Regions from separate parts of the Homo sapiens genome. Here regions 2, 3, 4, 5, 6 and 7 are each linked to region 1. The links are contacts of gene promoters, found by promoter capture Hi-C in blood cells and fetal thymus (Javierre and others, 2016). All regions are on one chromosome and are shown on one strand. The core of a region is centred on a gene start or on the middle of the fragment in contact, and the rest is flanking DNA. Distances in the headings are between cores, read along the strand shown.

Evidence for each region. The method cuts DNA at HindIII sites, captures the fragments that hold promoters and counts their contacts. A CHiCAGO score of 5 or more calls a contact.
Region 2: a fragment that was not itself captured here is called in contact with the fragment with the promoter of LPIN2 in region 1 in 10 of 17 cell types (naive CD8 T cells, activated CD4 T cells, total CD4 T cells and 7 more); the score reaches 11.6 in naive CD8 T cells.
Region 3: the fragment with the promoter of MYL12A here is called in contact with the fragment with the promoter of LPIN2 in region 1 in 14 of 17 cell types (monocytes, naive B cells, total CD8 T cells and 11 more); the score reaches 9.4 in monocytes.
Region 4: a contact is called between a fragment that was not itself captured here and the fragment with the promoter of LPIN2 in region 1, in 1 of 17 cell types (activated CD4 T cells). The highest score is 6.2, in activated CD4 T cells.
Region 5: a fragment that was not itself captured here is called in contact with the fragment with the promoter of LPIN2 in region 1 in 7 of 17 cell types (activated CD4 T cells, naive CD8 T cells, total CD4 T cells and 4 more); the score reaches 10.1 in activated CD4 T cells.
Region 6: a contact is called between a fragment that was not itself captured here and the fragment with the promoter of LPIN2 in region 1, in 6 of 17 cell types (naive CD8 T cells, activated CD4 T cells, neutrophils and 3 more). The highest score is 8.4, in naive CD8 T cells.
Region 7: a contact is called between a fragment that was not itself captured here and the fragment with the promoter of LPIN2 in region 1, in 1 of 17 cell types (activated CD4 T cells). The highest score is 6.6, in activated CD4 T cells.

The regions. Positions count from the first base shown.
Region 1 is chr18:3,011,475-3,014,830 of GRCh38, reverse strand. LPIN2 (lipin 2) reads left to right here and starts at 1,687. Exons shown (of 20, transcript NM_001375808.2): 1 at 1,687-1,744. RefSeq lists a silencer at 1,297-2,246. The HindIII fragment of the contact is 8,581 bases long and covers 1-3,356 here.
Region 2 is chr18:3,205,146-3,208,181 of GRCh38, reverse strand. All of the region lies in intron 2 of MYOM1 (myomesin 1), which reads left to right. Among named protein-coding and RNA genes, the nearest start is that of MYOM1, 13 kb to the left of the region's middle. The HindIII fragment of the contact is 7,009 bases long and covers 1-3,036 here.
Region 3 is chr18:3,246,551-3,249,656 of GRCh38, reverse strand. MYL12A (myosin light chain 12A) reads right to left here and starts at 1,856. Exons shown (of 4, transcript NM_006471.4): 1 at 1,748-1,856. It also overlaps a transcript of MYOM1 not described here. RefSeq lists enhancers at 718-787, 1,920-2,149 and a silencer at 1,550-1,629. The HindIII fragment of the contact is 13,247 bases long and covers 1-3,106 here.
Region 4 is chr18:2,825,556-2,828,642 of GRCh38, reverse strand. No RefSeq gene overlaps it. Among named protein-coding and RNA genes, the nearest start is that of EMILIN2, 20 kb to the left of the region's middle. The HindIII fragment of the contact is 312 bases long and covers 1,335-1,646 here.
Region 5 is chr18:3,226,385-3,229,471 of GRCh38, reverse strand. It overlaps a transcript of MYOM1 not described here. Among named protein-coding and RNA genes, the nearest start is that of MYOM1, 8.0 kb to the right of the region's middle. The HindIII fragment of the contact is 8,579 bases long and covers 1-3,087 here.
Region 6 is chr18:2,800,061-2,803,248 of GRCh38, reverse strand. It overlaps SMCHD1 (structural maintenance of chromosomes flexible hinge domain containing 1), which reads right to left. Exons shown (of 48, transcript NM_015295.3): 48 at 1-721. The coding sequence ends at 697. Among named protein-coding and RNA genes, the nearest start is that of EMILIN2, 45 kb to the left of the region's middle. The HindIII fragment of the contact is 3,341 bases long and covers 1-2,945 here.
Region 7 is chr18:2,868,422-2,871,811 of GRCh38, reverse strand. All of the region lies in intron 2 of EMILIN2 (elastin microfibril interfacer 2), which reads right to left. Among named protein-coding and RNA genes, the nearest start is that of EMILIN2, 23 kb to the right of the region's middle. The HindIII fragment of the contact is 1,388 bases long and covers 1,133-2,520 here.

The DNA of each region.
Region 1 (3,356 bases), core at 438-2,937:
CAGATGGGGCAAAACTTGATCGAGTTTCACAGAAAAGCAGAAGGAACTTCAGTGAAGAAGTGGTCGCCTGCTCCCTGAATCCAAGCACTGCCCAGCTACACCAGGCACTGGTGGGAAGAAACTGGGCTGCAGCTGGATCCTTCAAGGAGCAGCTTTGTGTATGCAAATGCCTATTTCAGTACCCTTAGAACTGTATAAATGATCACACACAAGATGCACCTCATAAATTAACTGCCATTTATATAGAAGTAACATAGGCTTCTGTTCATTACTTTCAATCATAGAATAGTAATAGAATAGGCTGCAAATTAAAAACCAGTGTGCACCAATAGTATATAGCACCAGCAATCCAGTTTTTTTTGTTTTTTTTTTTTTTGAGACAGAGTTTCGCTCCCAGGCTGGAGTGAAGTGGCGCAATCTCTGCTCACTGCAACCTCCGCCCCCCGGGTTCAAGTGATTCTACCGCCTCTGCCTCCTAAGTAGCTGGGATTGCAGCCAACATGCCCGGCTAATTTTTGTATTTTTAGTAGAGGCGGGGTTTTGCCACGTTGGCCAGGCTAGTCTCCAACTCCTGACCTCAGGCGATCGACCCGCCTTGGCCTCCCAAAGTGCTGGGATTACCGGCGTGAGCCACCGCGCCGGGCCCCATTTCTTTTCTTTCTGAGACGGAGTCTCTCTGTCGCCAGGCTGGAGTGCAATAGCGCCATCTCGGCTCACTGCAATCTCCGCCTCCCGGGTTCAACTGATTCTCCTGCCTCAGCCTCCTGAGAAGCTGGGATTACAGGCACGCGCCACCACGCCCGGCTGGTTTTTTGTATTTTTAGTAGAGACGGGGGTTTCACCATGTTGGCCAGGCTGGTCTTGAACTCCTGACCTCAAGTGATCCGCCTGCCTCGGCCTTCCAAAGTGCTAGGATTACAGGCGTGAGCCACCCATTTCTTAAAAAGTATATTTTAATGCTGGGGACGGTGGCTCATGCCTGTAATTCCAGTACTTTGGGAGGCCGAGGTGCGGGGATGCTTGAGCCCAGGAGTTGGAGACCAGCCGGGGTAACAGAGCGATAAAAAGAATAAACAAAAAACAACAGAACCCCGGCATATTTTTAAAAATGAGTTGTGTAATAGGATTTTTTTTTTTTCGGTGGAGATGTAAGTAAGCAAAGGAGATGTGCTACTAGTGATCAAAAGGGGATTATAAAACATTCATTCCCTAGACTTTTTTTGCACTTTAACATTCCTTTTTGGCAATTGGGCTCTCAGTCCCACGTGACCTGCCGCAGGGTTGCCATGGGGACCGGAAGAAACTTTTTTTTTTTAAAACAAAGTAAGGCTCCTGTCGCCCGAGGCACTAGAAAATCGAGGCCCCGCCCTCACTTGGCCAGGGGCCCGGGCGCGCAGCCCAGGGACTGGGAGCGGTGAGAAGCCGCACGCCTGGCGCTCGGCGGCGGGGGCGCGGCGCGCGGCCGGGAGCGCGCGTCACGTGGCTGGGGCGGGGCCTGCGCGCTGCCCGCCCGCCAGCTGCCGGCTCGGCCGCCGCAGCCGCGGCGTCCCATTCATGAGGGCCGCCCGACTCAGCTGCGGCCCAGGCGGCTTCCAAGGCAGCGGCGGCTGCGGGCGCTCCGACCCCGCGCGCGCCCCCGACCGGCCCCGCCCCCTCGGCTTCCCTCCCCGGCGGGTCCTAGCCGTCGCAGTCCAGCCGCCGCCTGCCCTCAGCCGCCCGCTGGCCGGGAGCGGAGCCCCTGTGGGTAAGTGGGCGCGGGCCGGGCTCCTCGCAGGCGTCCCTCCGGGGCTGGCGGTGAGTGTCTGCGCCTGGGGGCTTCCCTTGGCGCGGGCCCGGGGCTGTCCTGCCGGAGGCCGGGACCCTCCGGGGCGGCGCGGGTTGAGCCGCCCCTCCTCGCGCCGCGGTCCCCGCTTCCCGGTCCTCGCGTCCCAGTCCCCGCCTCGCCGCGACCGCGCCACGTAGACGCGGCCCCTACCGCCGCCGCCGCAGGACGGACCGGCGGGGTGCGCGGGGAGCCGGGGGCGTCGGGGCGTCAGTGGTGGCTGCTGAGGACTCTGAACCCGCGCAGTTCCCTCGCCGCCGCCCTGGGGATGGTTACCCGAGACCACCCCTACCCCTGGGTTTGGGGCGCGGAGGGGAGTGCGGAAGGCGCGCGGGAGGCCGCGTCTCCATCCCGCCCCCGGCCCTGCGGGAGGGGGCGCCGGGCACGTGATCTGCGGCGAGGCGGGGGCCGCCGAGTTGCTGGTGTTTCTTCCCCGCCGCGCTTTGCCCCGTACCTCCGCCTTCAAGCTGTGTGGACCGGATTCAAATGTGGTTAGTTTTCTCAAAGCCCCCCAGCCCCCGGTGCAGATCTTAATTTGTGAGGAACACGTTCAGATACAGTTTGTACTGAGAGCCTCTCTGTCCACTTCTAACGCCAGCGGATCACCATTTTCTCCACTCGCCTGAACATTTTAAGACTCTTTTCATTGAAAATTCAAGATGACATTTTTTAGGCATAATTATGCAAACCAGTACCAGAAAGATCACCCTTCCTTTCCGAAAAGTACTGGAACTCTGAATACTTGGAAATGCTTTGAAGGACTACTTAGTAAATGGCCAAACTAATTTTTAATGCACATTTGGGGCTTACCCATTTTTTTTTTAATTGAAAACGAGGCTCTAGACTTGGTGTCAAGGTAGGTCCTGTTGAATGAAGTTCTTTACCCAGTAGTGATGATGGGTGTTACTGTTTATTAAAACTTGGCCTGGCTAGATTATAATGTTTTGACAATACAAAGTCGGTTTTGAAATACATTTTGAAATATTTACGAATTATTTAGTGGCCCATACTGGTTTATGTTTTAACGGTCTGGTGTTGATCGTTCTTAGTGGCTTCAGATTGAGAAGAAGTGGCAGGTGATGCTGAAGCGGGGGAGAAGCGGCAGAGCCGGCCACACAGTGCAGGGGATGGAGACAGGTGCTGGGCTGGTCCTCCTGCAGCATCCTCAGTTGTTGGAGGGCAGTCATCCTCAGGCCGTACCCAGCCAGAGAAGAAAAAGAACAGTGTGAAGCCACGTGTGATAGCCGTCCAACATCGGCTCTTCCCTCCAATTACATTGTAGTTGATTGTGGTATGTCAGACTGAAGTATCTCTTTTATTTCGAGACAGAGTCTCACTCTGTCGCCCAGGCTGGAGTGTAGTTGCGCGATCTCCGATCACTGCAATCTCTGCCTCCTCTGTTAAAGCGATTCTTGTGCCCCAGCCTCCCGAGTAGCTGGGATTACAGGCATGAGCCACCACACTCAGCTAATTTTTGTATTTTTATTAGAGACCGGGGGTTTCACCATGTTGGCCAGGCTGGTCTCGAACTGCC
Region 2 (3,036 bases), core at 214-2,713, 190 kb before region 1:
AGAATGGTCCTTTCTATGTATCAGCCTCCTGCTCCAACTTCCTCAGCTGTAAACACAGGGAGAGAGAGCTAGGATTCTCACTCCTGGTAACAACAGGTTCACATAATTGGCAATTTATAGATCCATAGAACTGTGGAATGTTAAAGCAAGAAAGGACCAAAAGTTCATATAATTTAAGCCCCTCCTTTCATAGATGTGTAGACTGAGGCCCAGAAAGATGTGGTTCCTTCTTTGCCTGCTGTGCTTGACTCTTTTACCAGGCTCTCATGCAGCCTAAATCAAGTTGAGATGGCACCAGATATACCCAGAATGGCATAGTCTTCCCTAGGCAGGTGAATCATGCTGTGAGAAGGCATGTCCTTTTCCTAGAGTAGAGCAGAGTAGAATGAGTCAGCCAGAGGCGGAGGAAGGGCAAAGCTGCTACCTCCCTGGGCTCAGAGGTGAAACATTTGCTCTGTCCCTGCAGGCCCTTGGCCTCCATAGTGTCGGCACTGGCCAGGTAGTGGGGTGTAACTGAGCTTCCACAGAGAGACCTCTGGACTCTGGAAGCCCAAGGGTGCCTTTGCAACAGGCTTGAGGTTTCCCACAGCCATCTTTTAGATGAAACAAGAAAGCAAGAGTAAGGTAACTTTCGTGCAATGTCTAGTCAATCCCAGTGACCATCCCAAAGTAGAGTGGATATTGGTGTCTGGGCTGCTTTATAAATAAGTTAATAAGACCTGCTTTGACAAACCCTGGACACCTCAGTTCACAAAGAAACAACCTTAGACTTAGTAAGGCATCTCCTGATACTATTGTCAAGTGTCTTTATACTATAATGTCTAGGAAATATGGGGTTAAACTCTTTTACTCTTGCTTAAAAACTATAATGTAGTCCGATTAAATTCACTTATGGAATAGTCAGAAGTGAATAACAACTGAAGGATGTATATAGACAAGAACCATAAGAGATTTAATTCTCTCAGAGTTTTACACATCCACCTTTTCTAGAACACATGAATATTCTACATTCCTAGGGCATTTGTTTTTATATCATGGCTATACACTAACTGTGTAAAGTTACTGAAAAAGCAAGGAAAATGTTACATATCAATGGAAATTTAAATCATGGAAAAAATAAAGCAATAAATTAAATGAAAAAATTGCGGTTATATTCCTATTTAAATAGTTTTTTTTAAAAAAAACTGAAAGTGAGATATGGCTAAGAGTAAAATGAAGAGAAGAGATTAGTGTAAGATAAATAATGCAAAAAAAATTAAAATCCAAGGGAAGGCTATTTATTTTGACATCATAATATTTATTATGACGCTACCTGTCAGTAAATTTCAAGGATCATGTCGATCTAACTAAATTCATGTTTGTACCATAAGAAACTTTTTCTGAAAAGTGTATTAGCAAAAAGAGGACTCTTCAGCTTTCTACTTGTCCGCGAACTTTGATGTTCTCCTGAAACCTCCATGTGTGTCAAGATTGGGAAATGGGAGAATCAAGAATCAGTAGGTGTTAGGCCACCGGGATTGCCTGTATCAAAGGAGGAGCACAAAACCAAGCTGTTCTCAATCAAAAGTAGATCCAAAACAACGTTTTCACAAAAGTCCAAAGAAAAGTATCATTTTTCAGGTTTTGCGAAGAGGAAATTGTGGCGAACAGAAAATTGGAGAGTAGAAAAGAGAATGCAAATTCCCAGCGACTCTGCACAGGGTCCTAAAGATGAGAGATGTAATTCAGATGCTGAAGCCCTGCGGAGGAGCAGCTAACTGGAGCAAAGACAGCCCAGAAGAGGCCCAGAAAAAGCTGACCCACAGTTTAAAAACATGGCCTCTTTCTCTCTTCCAGTAAACGGCTGAGCATTTCGCATATATGTGAACAGTACGGAGCTGTAAATATATGTAAAGATGAAGTTTTTAAAGGAACATTTTTAGAATAGAAAAAATGAATTCAGCTCTTTTGTGGCCTTTCAGTAAAGCCTAATGAAAACACATAGATAAGTCAGCATTAAAAACAGAGCTTTTCATCCTGGGATGTCCTACCCATCTTTGAATGTCCAGCTCTTCCACGAAGGATTCCCTGATAACCCCAGACAGAAGCTCACTCTCGAGTGTGTGAATTCACATTTTGTTTGCACTGGCCTTTGTGGTTACTGGCCTTCCTTCTTTGTGTTCTTCCATCCTTTCTTCCTTGATTGACATAATATATTTGCTCCCTTACTAGACCGTAAAGCTCTCAGAAGACAAGGGTTTTACATTTATCCTTGTATCCTACTCCTACCCCAGTGCCAAACACAGTATTTTGCACACAGTAGATACTCAATAATTTTTTTTGTCAAATAAATGAAATTGCTACAGAATGTTAAGAAATAAACCCGTGAGGATTTCAGTGGTATTATAACGTGTTATATGTATATACATTGTGAACGATTGAACAAGGAGATTGTTCAATAATGTTTGAAATAAACTTTCTCGTGCACTTTCTGAAATACCAGCTGGGTTGTATGCTAAGTTTACATTTAACTCTATAAGAAACTACCCAGTGGTTTTCCAAAGTGGTTGTACTGTTTTACCTTCCCACAAAAATGTATGGGGATTCTAGTTTATCCACATCCTTGTCAACATTTATTGTTTTCTGTCTTATTTATTATAGCCATTATAATGTGTGTGTAATAGAGTTTTGTTGTGGTTTTGATTTGCATTTGCTTAATGACCAATTTTGTTAACCATCTTTTTTGCATTTAGTAGCCATTTCTGTATCTTCTTTAGTGAAATGCCTATTCAAATGTTTTGCCCATTTTTTAATTGGATTTTTTTCTTATTGAGTTGTCATAGTTATTTAAATGGTTTGGATACAAGTCCTTTATTAGATATGTTTGCAAATATTTTCTCATATTCTGTGCCTTGTCTTTTCCTTCTCTTTACTGCAGTGTCTTTCCAAAACCAGAAGTTTTTAATTTTGATGAAGTTCAGTTCAACAATTTTGTTCCTTTCAAATCATGCTTTTGGTATTTTATCTAAGAACTCTTTGATTAAGTCAACACCTTAG
Region 3 (3,106 bases), core at 607-3,106, 230 kb before region 1:
ATTACAGGCGTGAGCCACCGCACCCAGCTCGAGTCTTTATTTTTGAGGGATTAAGTGAAAGATCCTTGGTGTCAAGGAGTGTCTGTTGTACGAAACTGGAAAGTAGAGAGACTTACAGAACAGGCTTCTACAAAATATGAGGATTTCAGATGCATGAGAAAGTGGATGAAGGGCAGTTAGGAGACTGAGTTTACAGATCTAAAGGAGCATAACCTTTTTTTTAAGTCAGGCGAGGTGAGCGCTGGTGGCAATGAATCTGGTTTTTATTTTGTGTTTTAGCTCAGAATCATTGTGGGCTGTAACGAGAGATACACAACATGATTAAGGAAAATGTTAGACTAGATTAATAGGTGGGAGAAATAGAAGAGATTCTCAAAGTGGCTTTCCCCACACACCAAAGGACACAAGAAGTTTTCAGAATCTCTAGAAACTATGTTCATTTATAAAATGGGATTAATCCATACCAATATATACATTAGAGTTCTGTGGTTAGAATCCTAGAGTCCAGCATTTATTTACAAAGTGGCAATAAATGTAAAATAACCTAGAAACTTCTTCTACAAAACGAACACTCAAATTGATAATATTCTGAGAAATATCACACATTCTGCAAGAAAAAACCACCATCTTACAAAACACTGCGTACTGTGATAGCACCTAGTATTTGGTGGGCTTTCTAAACCCTGACCAAATATACCGCCTCATTTAATCAATGCACTTAAAAAAAAAAAGCCTAAGTATAACTTATTTTCTGGTGCTAACCACAATTTTTAAAAAGTGTATTTCAAGTTGGTGCTTCCGTTCCAAGTAAACCAAGTTTCATTTCTTATGCAAACTTCCGGTTGAAGGTAGGATTCGTTCTCTTGGACTGCCACACCCAAAAGTTCTCACCACTGGACAAAGACAATTAGCTGTGAGGGCTGACTTGCCAGTAAAGCCTCGCTTTTGAAAATAGAGTGCTTTTCTGATTACCGTTTATTAGAGCCCTTCCAGAACATGAAACAAATACCAATAATTTTAAGAAATATTCGCTTTATTCGCCTTTAAATATGAAACTTTTTGCACTTAAGTTAAAATCTCTGCTAAATCCATAGGTCTCTCAAGAACTGACAGATACATTCATATACCTACTAAACTACTTTAAAAAGAAGACACTTCCATGGCGAATTGAATTAGCCCAAACTTTCCCCCCAAATGGGACAAGGTATTACATTTTGGAGTTTTTCTTCGAGTCACAAACTAAACTCCAGATCTCTCTGTCCAAAATTTCATCGCTTAAAGAAAAAAAGTTCTAATTACAGGAGCGGATACTGAGCTGAAGAACTTCCCAATTTGAGTTGGTTATTCCTACTAAACGCAGCCACACAGCTGCAACAACAGCTGCAGCAGGGGGACAACGGGCTACGTTTTTGCGCAAACCCTCTTGAATCGGGCAAGTTGACGTTAGAAACTAAAATAGTCCCGGAGTCAGCTCTGCAGGGGTCGGGTTTCGCGGGCCCGGCAGTCGCCCAAGCTCAAGGCGCCAGTGAGCGAAGCCACATTTCCAGAGTTCCAAGTTTGGGCACAGGAGCGAAGTTCGGGTCTGGGCCACTCCAAGCCATGGCCTCGGATCCCAGAACCGGGGACCTGGCTGGCACACCTGCCCAGGTGCGCTACCGGCGCCAGGAGCCCCGCCGCCCTCCAGCTGCCCCCGCGGAGACGGGTCCCCGGGATGGGTCTCACGCGCCCGAACGCGAGCGCCACTCACCCGGCACAGCTACGAGAATCCGAGCACCTCTCCGAGCCCCTCGCTGCCGCTATCACACCACCCTGCTACCCAGAGAGCCGCTAAAAACCACCGCTTCCGGCCTCTGCTTAGCAAGCCGGAAGGAAGCCCGGTCACCTTTCTTGGCCCGCAGAGTGGGTCTGACTTCACGGAGGGGCGACAGAGAGGGAAGTCGCCAGTGTGGTCAGCGGGCGTGGTATTGACCAAGTGCATGAGAAGGAAGTGTAAAGTGGGCGACCTAGAATATAGAGCAATATATAATGGTCCTCTGGGTCCTGTTACTGAGTTTCCTTCTTTTTTGTACCTGTTGTTGCAGTGTTAAGTCTTCCTCCCCCCTATCCTTTCCGCAGATGGTTGCGTCCGTCCTGTGGCTTTGCCTGGCCGCACATTCCAGGGCACGGCGAAGGGCGGGGCCCGTCGGCCCAAGTCCTTGTAGGGAAATCGAGGAGAGGGCTGCGGGCCCACGTGACTGACCCTCGCCCCGCCCCGAAGCCGGGCTCCAGCTTGTGGGCGGTAGTGCGCCTGCGCTTGACGCCCCGCGCGGGGTCTGGGTCTCCGCCTGAGGGCCCCGGAGCAGTGCGCGTATCCCGGGAGCGGATCTTGATGCTAGCTCTGTGTGCAGTGTAATTTTATTAAGAGTCCCGCCCCCTCCATACGGGAGGAAACGTGTGTCCCTGGGGCCCTCAGCCAAGCCTCCACTATCTTTTTGGCCCAGACGGATTTCCCAGGTCACAAGTGGCTGGAGACTTCCTCTTGAAAAACATTTGCCGTCGTTTTTCCCTGGCAGAGCCCCTTTGACCCTGGCTAACAAGGACAGCCTGACTTGGATCCCACTATGCAGGAAGGAAGGCGACTCTTCCCCGCACCTCTTGCTACGATTAGGACTTGCGACTTGGTGAAAACAGGAATCAAAACTTGGGCCTATTTCTCCTGAGGTCTGCTTGCCTAGAACAATTCGTAACGATGAATCTTATTAAAAAGAGAAAGTCCTCCCCGACTTTATCTTTTTCCGCCCAGAATCCGATAAGGAAGACTTGTTCTGGCCCCCTCAGCTCTCTGACCTCACCTACCAGAGGAGAGAGTGGGATCCTCTAACACTCGAGCCGTCATCCCAGCACTAGGGGACAGTGACCAGTGTGGCTCCCGTGGCCAGAACCCTTCTGAAGTTTGGGTTGCCCTGTGGTCTTCGCCTTCAAAGCAGGCCGCCACTTGAATCCTTCTGGAACGGACAGTGTTGCTGTAAACGCCGCGGAATAGTATCTTCTAAGTATTCGTAGCTTCTTTCTTGAGGGATCTCGGGAACGTTCCGTGTATTAACCACTAACGTATTCCAAAGTTAAC
Region 4 (3,087 bases), core at 241-2,740, 190 kb after region 1:
CGCGGTGGCTCACGCCTGTAATCCCAGCACTTTGGGAGGCCGAGGCAGGCAGATCACAAGGTCAGGAGATTGAGACCATCCTGGCTAACATGGTGAAACCCCATCTCTACTAAAAAAATACAAAAAAATTAGCCGGGCGTGGTGGCAGGCGCCTGTAGTCCCAGCTACTTGGGAGGCTGGGGCAGGAGAATGGTGTGAAGCTGGGAGGCGGAGCTTGCAGTCAGATGAGATCGTGCCACTGCACTCCAGCCTGGGTGACAGAGCAAGACTCCACCTCAAAAAAAATAAAATAAAATAAAAGAGATTGTGTCTTGCTTTGTCACCCAGGCTGGAGTGCAGTGGCACAACCGCAGCTCATTGCAGCCTCGAATGCCTGGCTCAAGTGACCCTCTCACCTCAGCTGCCTCTTGTACAGCCTGTAGAACCATGAGCCCAATAAACCTCTTTTCTTTACAAATTACCCAGCCTCAGGTATTCCTTTAAAGCAACACAAAACAGACTAAGATAGGGCCTGAACTGGTTCAACTACTTTGGAAAACAGTCTGCATTACTATTTATATTTGAACAGGTGTGTACTCTAAAACCCAGCAATTGCACCCCTAGATATATATACCCTTAAGGAAATCTTGGACAAGTGCACCAGGAGACTTATATTAAAATGGTACCCAGCCTGGGCAACATCATAGATAATCAGCCCAGTGAATTTTCACAAAGTGAACATAGCCATGGAACCAGCATCAGGATCATGAAGCAAAACACGACCACCCCTGGAAAGCCCCTTGTGGCTCCTTCCAGTTATCAACAGTACCCCAAAGTCACATCCGTTCTGACCCCCAACACCAGTTTTTCCTTTTTTTTTTTTTTTTTTTAATAAAGATGGTGTCTTGCTATAGTGCCCAGGCTGGCTTCCAACTCCTGGCCTCGAGTGATCCTCCTGCCTCAGCCTCCCAAAGGGCCGGGATGATAGGTGTGAATCGCTGTGCCCTCCTGTTACTTTTTTTTTTTTTTTTTAAGCAGAATCTTGCTCTTTCATTTAGGCTGGAGTGCAGTGATGCAATCTCAGTTCACTGCAATCTCCGCCTCCTGGGTTCAAACGATTCTCCTGCCTCAGTCTCCTGAGTATCTGGGGCTACAGGTGTGTGCCACCACACCCAGCTAATTTTTGTATTTTTAGTAGAGACAGGTTTTCACCATGTTGACCAGGCTGGTCTCGAACTCCTGGCCTCATGTGATCCGCCCGCCTTGGCCTCCCAAAGTGCTGACATTACAGGAGTGAGCCACCGAACCAAGCCCCAGCTATTAGCTTTGAACAAAGACTCATCAGAGGAAAAGCTTGTTTCTTATTTGTCTTATTCATATTTTATCCCTATGCCTGGCACAGTTCCTGGTGCATAATACTTGTTTAATCACATAGGTCAAATGAGTGAGAACAAGCAGACAGGCATCTGACTTTTACAAGACAGTTGACCAAATTAACATAATAATATACAGGGGGAAAGTGATGCTTGATTTCGATGAGAACTAAGATCCAGGAATGCTAACTCAGAAATGAGTTGAAAATTCAAACTTTGAACAGAAGACTACACTTTAGTTTTCTCTTGTAACAATTGTAAACAACTGTAATCAATCTAAAGCTCTGTAAAGCTTTGCTTAGGACTTCCTCAACTGTCCTACAAACACATGCACTGTCCCTGCTGAGGCCGACCTCCGGGGACCTTGTGTCTCCGTCTCACTTGTCAGCGACCCTGTGTTACAGAGACCCTCCTGCCTGACCAATGCAGCCAAGAAATGACTATTTTCAGCCTTCCCTGCCCGACTCCAGGGCCCGGTCAGTCCGAGGACAGAATAGTCATCCTCTCCCTAGGCCAAGCATGTGACCCCAGCCTGAGTGCTTCCCGCCCCAATGAATGAGATAATGAGAGGCCAAATAAGGTTTCAAAACACGCATTGCCTCAGAATTACAGTTTTCCTTAACTGTACTTTTAAATAGCTGGGATTAAGAGCCAAGCACTGCCAAATCGCAGCTTAGCAAGAGAGATCTGTCAACTGTGAGAGATAACAAAAGAAGAAAACCCATTTCAAGCTTTGAACTGCTGTTCCTAAATGATTCCCAGAGAAATACAAATAAATTATATCTTTTGAAGGGCAGATTCATGATGAATGATCTTGTTAGATTGGGGTTCCAAATACTTATTCAAGATACTTCAGAATTTTAAAGGAGCACTTTGGGAGGCTGAGGCAGGCAGATCACTTGAGGTCAGGAGTTCGAGACCAGCCTGGCCAACATGGTGAAACCCCATCTCTACTAAAAATACAAAAATTAGCTGGGCATGGTGGCAGGCACCTTCTCAGGAGGCTGAGGCAAGAGAATCGCTTGACCTCGAGAGGCTGAGGGTGCAGTGAGCTGAAATCATGCCACTGCACTCCAGCCTGGGCAACAGAGCGAGACTCTGTCTCAAAAAAAAAAAAAAAGGTAAAGGGAGCAAGTCTTGACCATGAAAATGACTTCATTTAGAGGATGCTGTCCTCCAATCTGCCCCACTCTCCTCCCCAAAGATCTGTGGTAATTTCTCAGAGATAAGCCTTCAAAGACTCCAGGCAGAGCTAAAGCCCCAACTGGAGATACACAAATCCATTTTATCCACATTGTAAGCAGTCTTCAAAAACAGGAATGTTCAAGCCAGAAACACATTGAATTTGCCTGAGAAAGCTGAGTGGAGAAAGCAATTCTTTCTCCTTTCTACCTCTTTCCAGTTACGTGTGATTGGAGGCCCTTCAGCCAGTGTAATCTTTGCCCAAGCTGCTCCTCTGTGTGGGATGGCAGGGCTAACCTCGCTGCCTGGAGAACTTCAGCTCCACCTACAAGACCTCTGTCCTCAGCCCTTCTTTGAAGCTTCTCCGGTGCCTCCAGGCCCTCTCAGATGTTACAACAAATAACTGAGAAAGAATTTATGGTGGAACTTAGCAAATCAGCAACAATGACAAATCAACAAGAAAAAGACAAACAATCCAATAGAAAAATAGACAAAAACTGGAATCTGCACTTCAAAGAAATACGAAACTCAAATGGCCAATAAATGCCAATAT
Region 5 (3,087 bases), core at 557-3,056, 210 kb before region 1:
TGTGCAAAATATTTATAGCTTTCTTTTTAATTCAGGCTTTTATCCTTTTCGAACTGAAAGAGACCTAAGAGGTTTTTTTTTTTTTTCTCTTGGGTTGCATGTTAGAATCATTTAGGAGCTTTTAAAAAATACTGATGTTCATGTCTCATGCCAGAGATATGGAGTTAATTGTCCTAGAATATGGCCTAGGCCTGAGTACAGTTTCAAAGCTCCTCAGGTGATACTAATGTATAGCCAGGAAGGAGAACCACTCTTCCAATCCCACTCTATTGGGGGAACTATGAATAAACAAGAGCCCGAGAGGCTAAAAAAGGCCTCTCAAAAGAAGTCACAGAGAGGTGATAAAAGAGCTGGGTTGAAACTAAAGATGCTCCAAATGCCTGCTTCCAGCTTCTAGTCCTGGTGAATGACTGGAAATTTCCAGGTGCTCAACACTTAGAGACCAGGTAACAAATTATAGCAGAGCAATACAACACATTCATTCATTGTTATTGAAAGGACAACTGCGGACAGGGTAGGACATTGGTGAGAACCAAGTGCAATACTGGTGCATCCAGTATCCAGATGAAACTCAAAAACATCTTGCCAAGTGAAAGAAACCAGACACAAATGACTACATATGGTAGGATTCCATTTGTGTGAAATTTCTAGAAAAAGCTGAACTGTAGAGACAGAGGTCAGTGGTGGCCTCGGTCACGCGCGGGACCCAGGATTAACTGCAGACAAGCCTGAGGAAACTTTTCTGGGTGATGGAAGTGTTTTAAAACTGGATTTTGGTGATGGTTGCACAATGTAAAAATTGACTAAAACTCCCTGAACTTTACTCTTAAAATGGATTAATTTATGGTGTGTCAATTTTATTGCTATAAACTGTTAAAAGGAAATTCGAAATGAATTGAAACTGAAAACTCAGATCTGCTGATCTTTATTCTGGTTCTTACTTTTAAAGGAAAAAAAAAACCATATGATTTTTGTAAAAGTAACACACAGTCATTGTCGGGAGACAGTTCTCCGCGGGCTTCTTGTGTTTCGGCACATGTTGCAAGCGAAGATCTGGCTCTCCGTTGTTCCAGCCTGTTTCTGCAGGACTGTTCATATAGTGAACAGCCTTTGAAGACAGAGTAAGTGTCTCCAGCCACAGCAAAAGGCAGACACGCTTACTATCCAGTGTAACAAGAATATCTCCCTCTGAAGCAAAGGGCAGGTATGCTGAATGCTCATGATGAAATATTCAGGTGCTCTAAAGTCAAGATTCTTCTTCTGTAATGCAGCCCACTGTGACTGCAGGTGTCACCTGGTCTTCATCACGTTGTCCTTTGGGAACATGGGGATTGGGGGCTGGCAAACCAGTGAAGAATATGCTGACACTTGGCCACTGCTCTTGCTGTCAGGAGTAAAGCTCTTTGTCTTCTTGTGTCTTCTGTCAACACTCATGAAACTGTAGCAGGATCACTTTTTAGTTTGCAAGTAGGGTAAAATCTCTGACTCCTGCGTTCCTTTTTTTAAAAAATTGTGGTAAAATATACACAACATTAAATTTACCATTTTAGCCATTTTAGGGATACAGTTCAGTGGCAGTAAGTACATTTACACTGTTGTATAACTATCGCCATTACACATCTCTACAGCTTTTTAAAAATTAATTAATTTTTTTTTGAGATGGAGTCTCGTACGGCCCCCTGGCCTAGAGTGCAGTGGCTCGATGGCTCACTGCAACCTCCGCCTGCTGGGTTCAAGCGATTCTCCTGCCTCAGCCTCCCAAGTAGCTGGGATTACAGGTGCCTGCCACCATACCCAGCTAATTTTTTTGTATTTTTAGTAAAAGCAGGGTTTCACCATGTTGGCCAGGCTGGTCTCAAACTCCTGACCTTGTGACTCGCCCACCTCGGTCTCCCAAAGTGTTGGGATTACAGGTGTGAGCCACCGCGCCCGGCTCACATTGCTCTAGAGCTTTTTAATCATCCCATGTTGAAACTCTACCCATTAAGCTATACTCCTCATTACCCCCTTTCCCCAGCCCCTGGCAACCACTGTTCTGCTTTCTCTATAAACTCGACTACTCTAGGTACCTCATATAAGTGGAATCATACACTATTTGTCCTTGTGTGACTGGCTTATTTCACTTTGCATAATGTCTTCAGGGTTCATCCATGTTGTAGTGTGTGTCAGGATTTCACTCCTTTTTAAGGCTGAATAATATTCCATTGTATGTATATACCTTCACAGTTCTTGATGCTAATTATATCTTAAAATCAAGTAAAAAAAATACAAACAAGAAAGTTAAAAAAAAACAAAAGAAAGAGAAAGCATCTCATCATTTGGAAGTCATTATCATACCAGATATCTATTTATGAATAGACAGAAAAACAGGTAGAGACAAAAAATGTTAGAAAATGGGCTTTGGGGTCTTGCTTTCTAATACTCACCTCCAGTTCCCTGGCCTGGACTATGCGTGCAGGCAGCTTTCTGGCTTAGGGGCTTGTCCCTCTCCCAGAATCTACCCACCAGCTCCTGAGCCTCACACGCAGGTTAAGAGGGGCTCACAGCAGTTGTCCTCCCCGCAGCTGAACAGCTGATCCCTGGCCACACTGACTCCTAGCCCTTGTTTTTTCCCATCTCTAAGGAGTCCCTATGTCCTGAGGAGTTGTCCTTTGCCACATTTCCCAGTTTTCCTCATTCAGTAATTCTTTATTAAATGCCTGTTGTGGGTCAGGAGCTTTGCTGGGTACTGGGAGCACCTAGCCATAGAGATCCCGCTCCTACCAGTGAGTACTCATTGTGCAGAGACAGAAAAGTAAACACGTAAATACCACACGAAAAACTTCCCATCCTAGTGGAAGTAGGGAAGTCTCCCGGAAGGAGATGGCACGGGGTGTTGAAGGAGCGGGGTGAAGGAAGTGAGGAAGTGTGCGCGTGTTGGCAGGGCTGAGAGGAGCACCAGGTGTGAGGGAACCGGGGTGCTGGAGTCCTGGAGTTTGAGGGCTTGCAAGGAATTACCCGTGGTTGAAACTCAGGAGGCAGGCAGGGGAATGGAGAGGGGCGGAGCTGGAGAATTATGGAGGCTCATAGGGTGAAGATGCCCTCGTG
Region 6 (3,188 bases), core at 26-2,525, 210 kb after region 1:
GTGCTGCTGAATATTTTATATATATATATTTATATATATATATATATATACACACACACACACACACAGGATAAGTCTTTTGAAATTTGAAATGCTACCACTGTCACAAGTTCACTCATTGATTTAATGTTGTTCTGGGTATCTTAACATTTCAATTCCCAAATACCTGTGCTTTTAAAATTTTTATCCTGAATTCTGCATTGAGTTTCCTCACATATTTACAATTAAACATCTAGCCTCTAGAACCTCCCTTACACAAAAGACAAAACATCTTTGTTAAATAAATTCACGCAAAAGTAATAAAAAGGTTTTCAAGAAATAGTTCTGACATGTTCATTATATTTATACTGAAAAATAGTACATGTACTTTTCTTCAGGATTAATAAATGCCATGTGCCAGTTTTACAGTCACTGCCACATTAGCACATTTTCCTCTTACACATTTGCAAGGTAGTGACAACCAAAGGGCATAATGTCTGGAATAATTCCAGTAAATCCATAATGTCCAGTAAGATTCATAAAATTGAATGGTTGTTTCCAGTCCCATCTGAATCGAAATGGAAATTCATGCCCAGGTACTTGTATTGTCCCCAGAAATACTCAGTCTGGTAAGTCACCCTCTTGGTCTTCTGAAACAGAGATGCAGAAAGCAGGGCATTCTTACTGAGACCAATGGCCTCTTCTCTCTGTCACCTCTCATACATCTGTTTTGGTTATAATCCTGGTCAAAGGGGAAAGAAAAAAAAGTTTTATGTACCAAAGGTTTCCTTTCCCTGAATTCCCTCATCACACCTGAATGCTTAAATATCCAATGAAACCATATTCTTTTAAATATAATTCTTGGTATAAACAGATTTAATTAAATCCTTATATATAATCATTTCCTTCACATGTATGCAAAACAAGCCCCCAAATAAAAGTAGTTAACACACACACAGTATATAACATATATAAGTAATTTGTATCACAGTGCTTTGAAATGGTATTATCTCAGACCTAAATTCTGCAGATTTTTCCTTTCACCCCCTTTTCCTTAAATGAACTTATTATTTTAAGAACAGGAATTATAATGCTTATTACAGAAAAGTAACAAAGACAAGCAAAATAAAACATTTAATATTCATAATCTCATTCATGTAGAGATGAACACAGTGAGCACCTTGACATATATAGCTACAGATTTTAAAAATTCAGGTATATGTAAATATTTTCTAATAGTTCCCTGAACTATCTCCAAATAGAAGATGATACATATTTTTAACAGAACTAATTTTTAATCTTTATAAGTGGAAAATTATTTAGAAAACTGAAGCCTCTATTCAAGAAAACAATGGAATCTACTGCATAGTATCATATATTGCTAAGCATATCTAATGAATTCTAAGATATTTTTTCACACTTAACATCTCTGAAATCCAGATGTACTTTATAAGGTCATGAGTTAATTTGCAATATTTTTCTTTAATGTTTCATAAAATGACATTTTTATAGTTAATGAAATCTTAAAGTTGATGAAACATAGTATGTGATCTATAAGCAGTAACAAATATATATTCAGTATACATATGTAAATAAAAACATAAACATAAATATACAGAAACACATATAATGTACCTATTTCCTTTCCTACTATTAAATTTGTTCCTGATTGTATGGATGAAATATACCAATATTCAATACTGTTAAGATTTTTATTTCAAATGCTCTGACCTCTTGAGAGTGTGAGATTTATTAAAGATTTATAGAGAATAGGAAAAGACTGAGGATGAGAAAATCCCTCATAGTGATTTTAACAAATTTCATGAATATAATCAGGATGCAAAGAGGAGAAAGTCGCAGTCCAGAATACACCAAATTTTCCACCTAAACTTCTAATACCGCCATCACAAAGCTAAACAAATGATAGCTTTGTGTGTGTGTCTCCCCATGTACTAAAGGCTGCACTGAAAATATGGTTCTTTGGCTTCTCTAAAATCACTGACACTCTTTCTCCCTCTCCTTGATATGATACAGTATTACTATGAAGTATCTTAGTGAGTATTTTGTCAGTCACTGTTGCTGGGCATTCAATGAATTTTATTCATCCCTAGGAAATCCTCTTCCACATGATAGCATTTCCTTCTCCATTTTCTTCTTTCTAGATTCCTAATAGTCTGAATTGGTTCTCTATGTCTTCTATCTCTTTTTGTATTGGGGAAGTTTTCTTTTTGGACTTTAATCCTCCTATTGAACATTTTTATTTCAGCAACAATATTTGTAATCTGTTTATTCATTCTTGTCCTGGCTCCTTTCTGCTACATAGTAATTATAATTTTATAAAAGAGGTCTAGTCTCTTTACTAAATTGTCCTCCATGTTGATTTTGGAACTTAATCTTGAATTTTGTCTCTCACGTTGCTGGCTACCCTCATATGTGTGATGACTGTTAGTTGTACAATTACATTTAAGAAAGAGGATTACATTGCTAGCTGGAATTTCTTCTACTATTATAAAAATAGAACTGTTTTACCAACAAGTCTCTTCTCCGAGTGGGACTTGATGGTAACTATAACTGGGATAGGGCAAATCAACGTCATGGGTCCACAGGTTTTGCTTTAAACATGTGGATGTTGGGCCGAGCATGGTGACTCAGGCCTGTAATCTCAGTACTTTGGGAGGCCGCGGCAGGAGAGTAGCTTAAGCCCAGGAGCTTGAGACCAGCCTGGTCAACACAGCAAGACCCCATCTCTACAAAATAAATAAAGTAAAAATTGTTGAATTAAAATCAAAATAGATAAATGTGCAGGTGCAGAGCCAGTTATCAGCCTTTTAGTTCCCAGAGGCCAGCATTAGGTCCTAGTGTGCCAGCAACTACCAAAAGCCAATATACCAACATTTAATTCATTTCCATTGTTATCTAACTTTGTAGTGGCATCTTTTCATGCCTGTTGACAAGGAAACAAAGCTTTCAAAGTTTGGGTTGAAAATCTGGTACATTCTAGGCTGTGGCTTCCTTTCCTTTTCCATTCTGTTCCGTCCTTTTTATTTGCCACTCTCCCTGTTTGGGAGACAGGACTCCCAAACAGGGAGAGTTGCTGGACTTCTCACTCTTTTGTTCTAACTGACTCTGAATCCAAAGTGTTTCTGGGGCTAAATCAGGCAGACTGTCTCCTATTATTTCTAGACTATTTCCCAATCCCTTCACCTCTA
Region 7 (3,390 bases), core at 577-3,076, 140 kb after region 1:
ATAATGGACTCCATTGCCCACATGAAGGGTTATAGTTAATTTCCGACAATCAGGTGATGAATAATGAGGTCCTGAATGTCTCTCAGATAAAAGCAATCCTGCCATAACCTCCAAATGACAGGCCATGAACTAATTCAACTTCTTTTGCAACACGTGGTCCTTTCTAGCAATACCCTCAACAGAGGAGCACACAGATCCCCGCTCAGTGCCAAATCTCCACGTCCTCAGAACCTGTGGAGCAGGAGGAACTGCGGTCCCAGGCCCAATGCTCACACCCTCCACTGCCAGCTGGGCATCCCCCTCCATTCTGGCACGGACTGCCAGTCTCCTGAGTGAGTCCCTCCTGTGCCCCTCACCCCACATGGTCCCCCAACCCAAGTACGTTTTGCACACACAGCTGGGTAGCATTTGAAAGCACAGCTCTGATGATGTCCCTGCCAGGTGTGGTGGCTCACGCCTGTAATCACAATACTTAGGGAGGCAGAGGCAGGAGGATCACTTGAGCCCAGGAGTTCGAGGCCAGGCTGGGCAACATAGCAAGACCCCATCCTCCACAAAAAGGGGGGAAAAGCCCAAATTTGATGATGTCCCCAATGAAAGCATTCATGACCCTCCTCTGCATGGATAAGAAAGCCCACACTCCCAACCACAGTGTTCTGGACTGAATTGTGTGCCCCCCAGAAAGATATTTTGGAGTCCCAACCCCCAGTACCGGAAAATGTGACTTTATTTGGAGATAGGGTCTTTACAGAGGTGATCAAGTTAAAACAAGTTAAAACAAAGTCATTAGAGTGGGTACTGATCCAATAGGTCTAGTGTCCTTAGAAACCAGGGAAAATTTAGTTAACAGGTAGCTAAAGAAAAAAAGGGTGGTGGGGGAATTTGGAGACAGAGACAGACACACACAGAAGGGAAGATTATGTGAAGAGACACAGGGAGAAGACGGACATCTACAAGCCATGGAGAGAGGCCTGGAACAGATCCTTCCCTCGAAGCCCTCAGGAGAACCAACCCTGCTGATGTCTTGATCTACGACCCCCTGTGGACACCCACCTCCAGGTCCCTGCTCGTGTGTCTTGGCTTACGCTGACCTTGGCCTTCTCTCACATCTGCATATATTCAACTAGAAGCTTCCTTCAAAGCCATAAGACGTCACCACTTGCAAACAAGTTCTCGGATTCCTCCTGGCTGGAAATAACTTTCTTCTACCTCTGAACACCCCAGCACGTTGTGTTTCTCTTACTACAATTCTCATTCCCACCTTTTATGTCGTAATTATTTATGTTTATCTTTCAATTCACTTGCTAGATGTGCACTTCCAGAAGCCAACAGAAAGATCCTTACTGTATCACTGTAGAAACTAGTTCTGGGCCACATGTAGGCTTTGAACAAAAATATTTGTTTAATGAAACAAATAGTCTTCAAATAATAAGTCTTCTTTCAAGCCTGTTGAGCTTTCTGACAATTCAAAATGGCTTATGCTAATTATGAATCCTTAATCCAACATTTTCCAGGGCTATAAATGTGAAATGTTTTTTACTTCATTATGTTTTTATTTTTATTTACTTATTTCTTTTGAGACAGGGTCTGTCACGTAGGCTGGAGTGCAGTGGCACAATCATAGTTCACTGTAGCCTCAACCTCCCCAGCCCAAGCGATCCTCCCACCTCAGCCTCCTGAGTAGCTGGGACCACAGGCGTGCACCACCACGCCCAGCTAATTTTTGTATTTTTGGTAGAGACTGGGTTTTGCCATGTTGCCCAGGCTGGTCTCTAACACCTGAGCCCAAGTGATCCACCTGCCTCAGCCTCCCAAAGTGTCGTGTTACAGGTGTGAGCCACCATGCCTAGTCCATTATTATCTAGTGTTCTATATCTGTAATGTATTTCCCATATCAGTTGTTCTTCAGAAACTCCGAGAAGTATCCTTACTATCAGTAAAAGTTATTTTGCCCACTCTGTATTTCACCACGTCTTCAGCAACTATACAAATGATGGTACACACACACACACACACACACACACAAACACACACACACACACAGAGGAATCTATCCAACAACAAAAAGTAATCAACTACAGCCAGGTGCAGTGGCACACACCTGGAGTCCTAGCCACTCAGGAGGCTGAGGTGGGAGGATCACTTAAGCCCAGGAGTTCAAAAACCAGTCTGGGCAATATAGTGAGATCCCATCTCAAAAAAAAAAATCAGCTACTGATACATACTACAACATGAATGAATCTCAAAATCTTTCTGTTCAATGAAAGAAGCCAGTCAAAAGAGAGTACAACCTGTATGACTCTATTTACATAAAACTTTAAAATATGCAAACTTATCCCTAGTGAGGGAAAGTGGATCAGCAGTTCCCAGGGAGGGGGTACGTGGAGAGAAACTGGAGGGAGAGATTAGCAAGGGATATGTTGATTGTGATGTTGGTTTCACGGGTATATATGTCAAAATATTAAACTGTACAACTTCAAATATGTGGCTTACTCATGTAAATTATACTTCAATTAAGCTTTTTTTTTTTTAACTATGTAATTTCTGCATTAAGGTATTTTTAAATCTCTTCAAATCTGTGAAAGGGAAGTACCAGAGAAGTCTTTTCTTGACTATGCAATAACATATTTCAATTACATAGAAACTAAAATCAGCATCATTAAGTCTTTGTCAAAGTTTCAGAATGTAGGTTTAACTAGAGTTGGTTTTTTAAAAATGTATCAGATTACTCTTCAGACACATAACCAATTGTTTCTGCCTATAGAGAACTCAGGTCTAATATTTACTTTTGTTCTTTTAAAGGTATTGGATCAATGATTAAGGAAGAAAGCCAAACAGGATTAAAAAAAAAAAAAACTCCCTTCAAACTGACATATTGTGTAAAATAACACAAAACATCACAGATGTATGTTAGCATTTTGAAAATACAACAAGAAAAATGTCCAGGACCAGATGGATTCACAGCTAAATCCTAACAGACATTTAAAGAAGAATTGGTCTCCCTCTCCCTCTCCCTCTCCTCTTTCCACGGTCTCCGTCTGATGCCGAGCCGAAGCTGGACTGTGCTGCTGCCATCTCGGCTCACTGCAGCCTCCCTGCCTGATTCTCCTGCCTCAGCCTGCCGAGTGCCTGCGATTGCAGGCGCGCGCCCCCACGCCTGACTGGTTTTCGTATTTTTTTGGTGGAGACGGGGTTTCGCTGTGTTGGCCGGGCTGGTCTCCAGCTCCTAACCGCGAGTGATCCGCCAGCCTCGGCCTCCCGAGGTGCCGGGATTGCAGAGGGAGCCTCGTTCACTCAGTGCTCAATGGTGCCCAGGCTGGAGTGCAGTGGTGTGATCTTGGCTGGCTGCAACCACCTCCCAGCCGCCTGCCTTGGCCTCCCAAAGAGCCG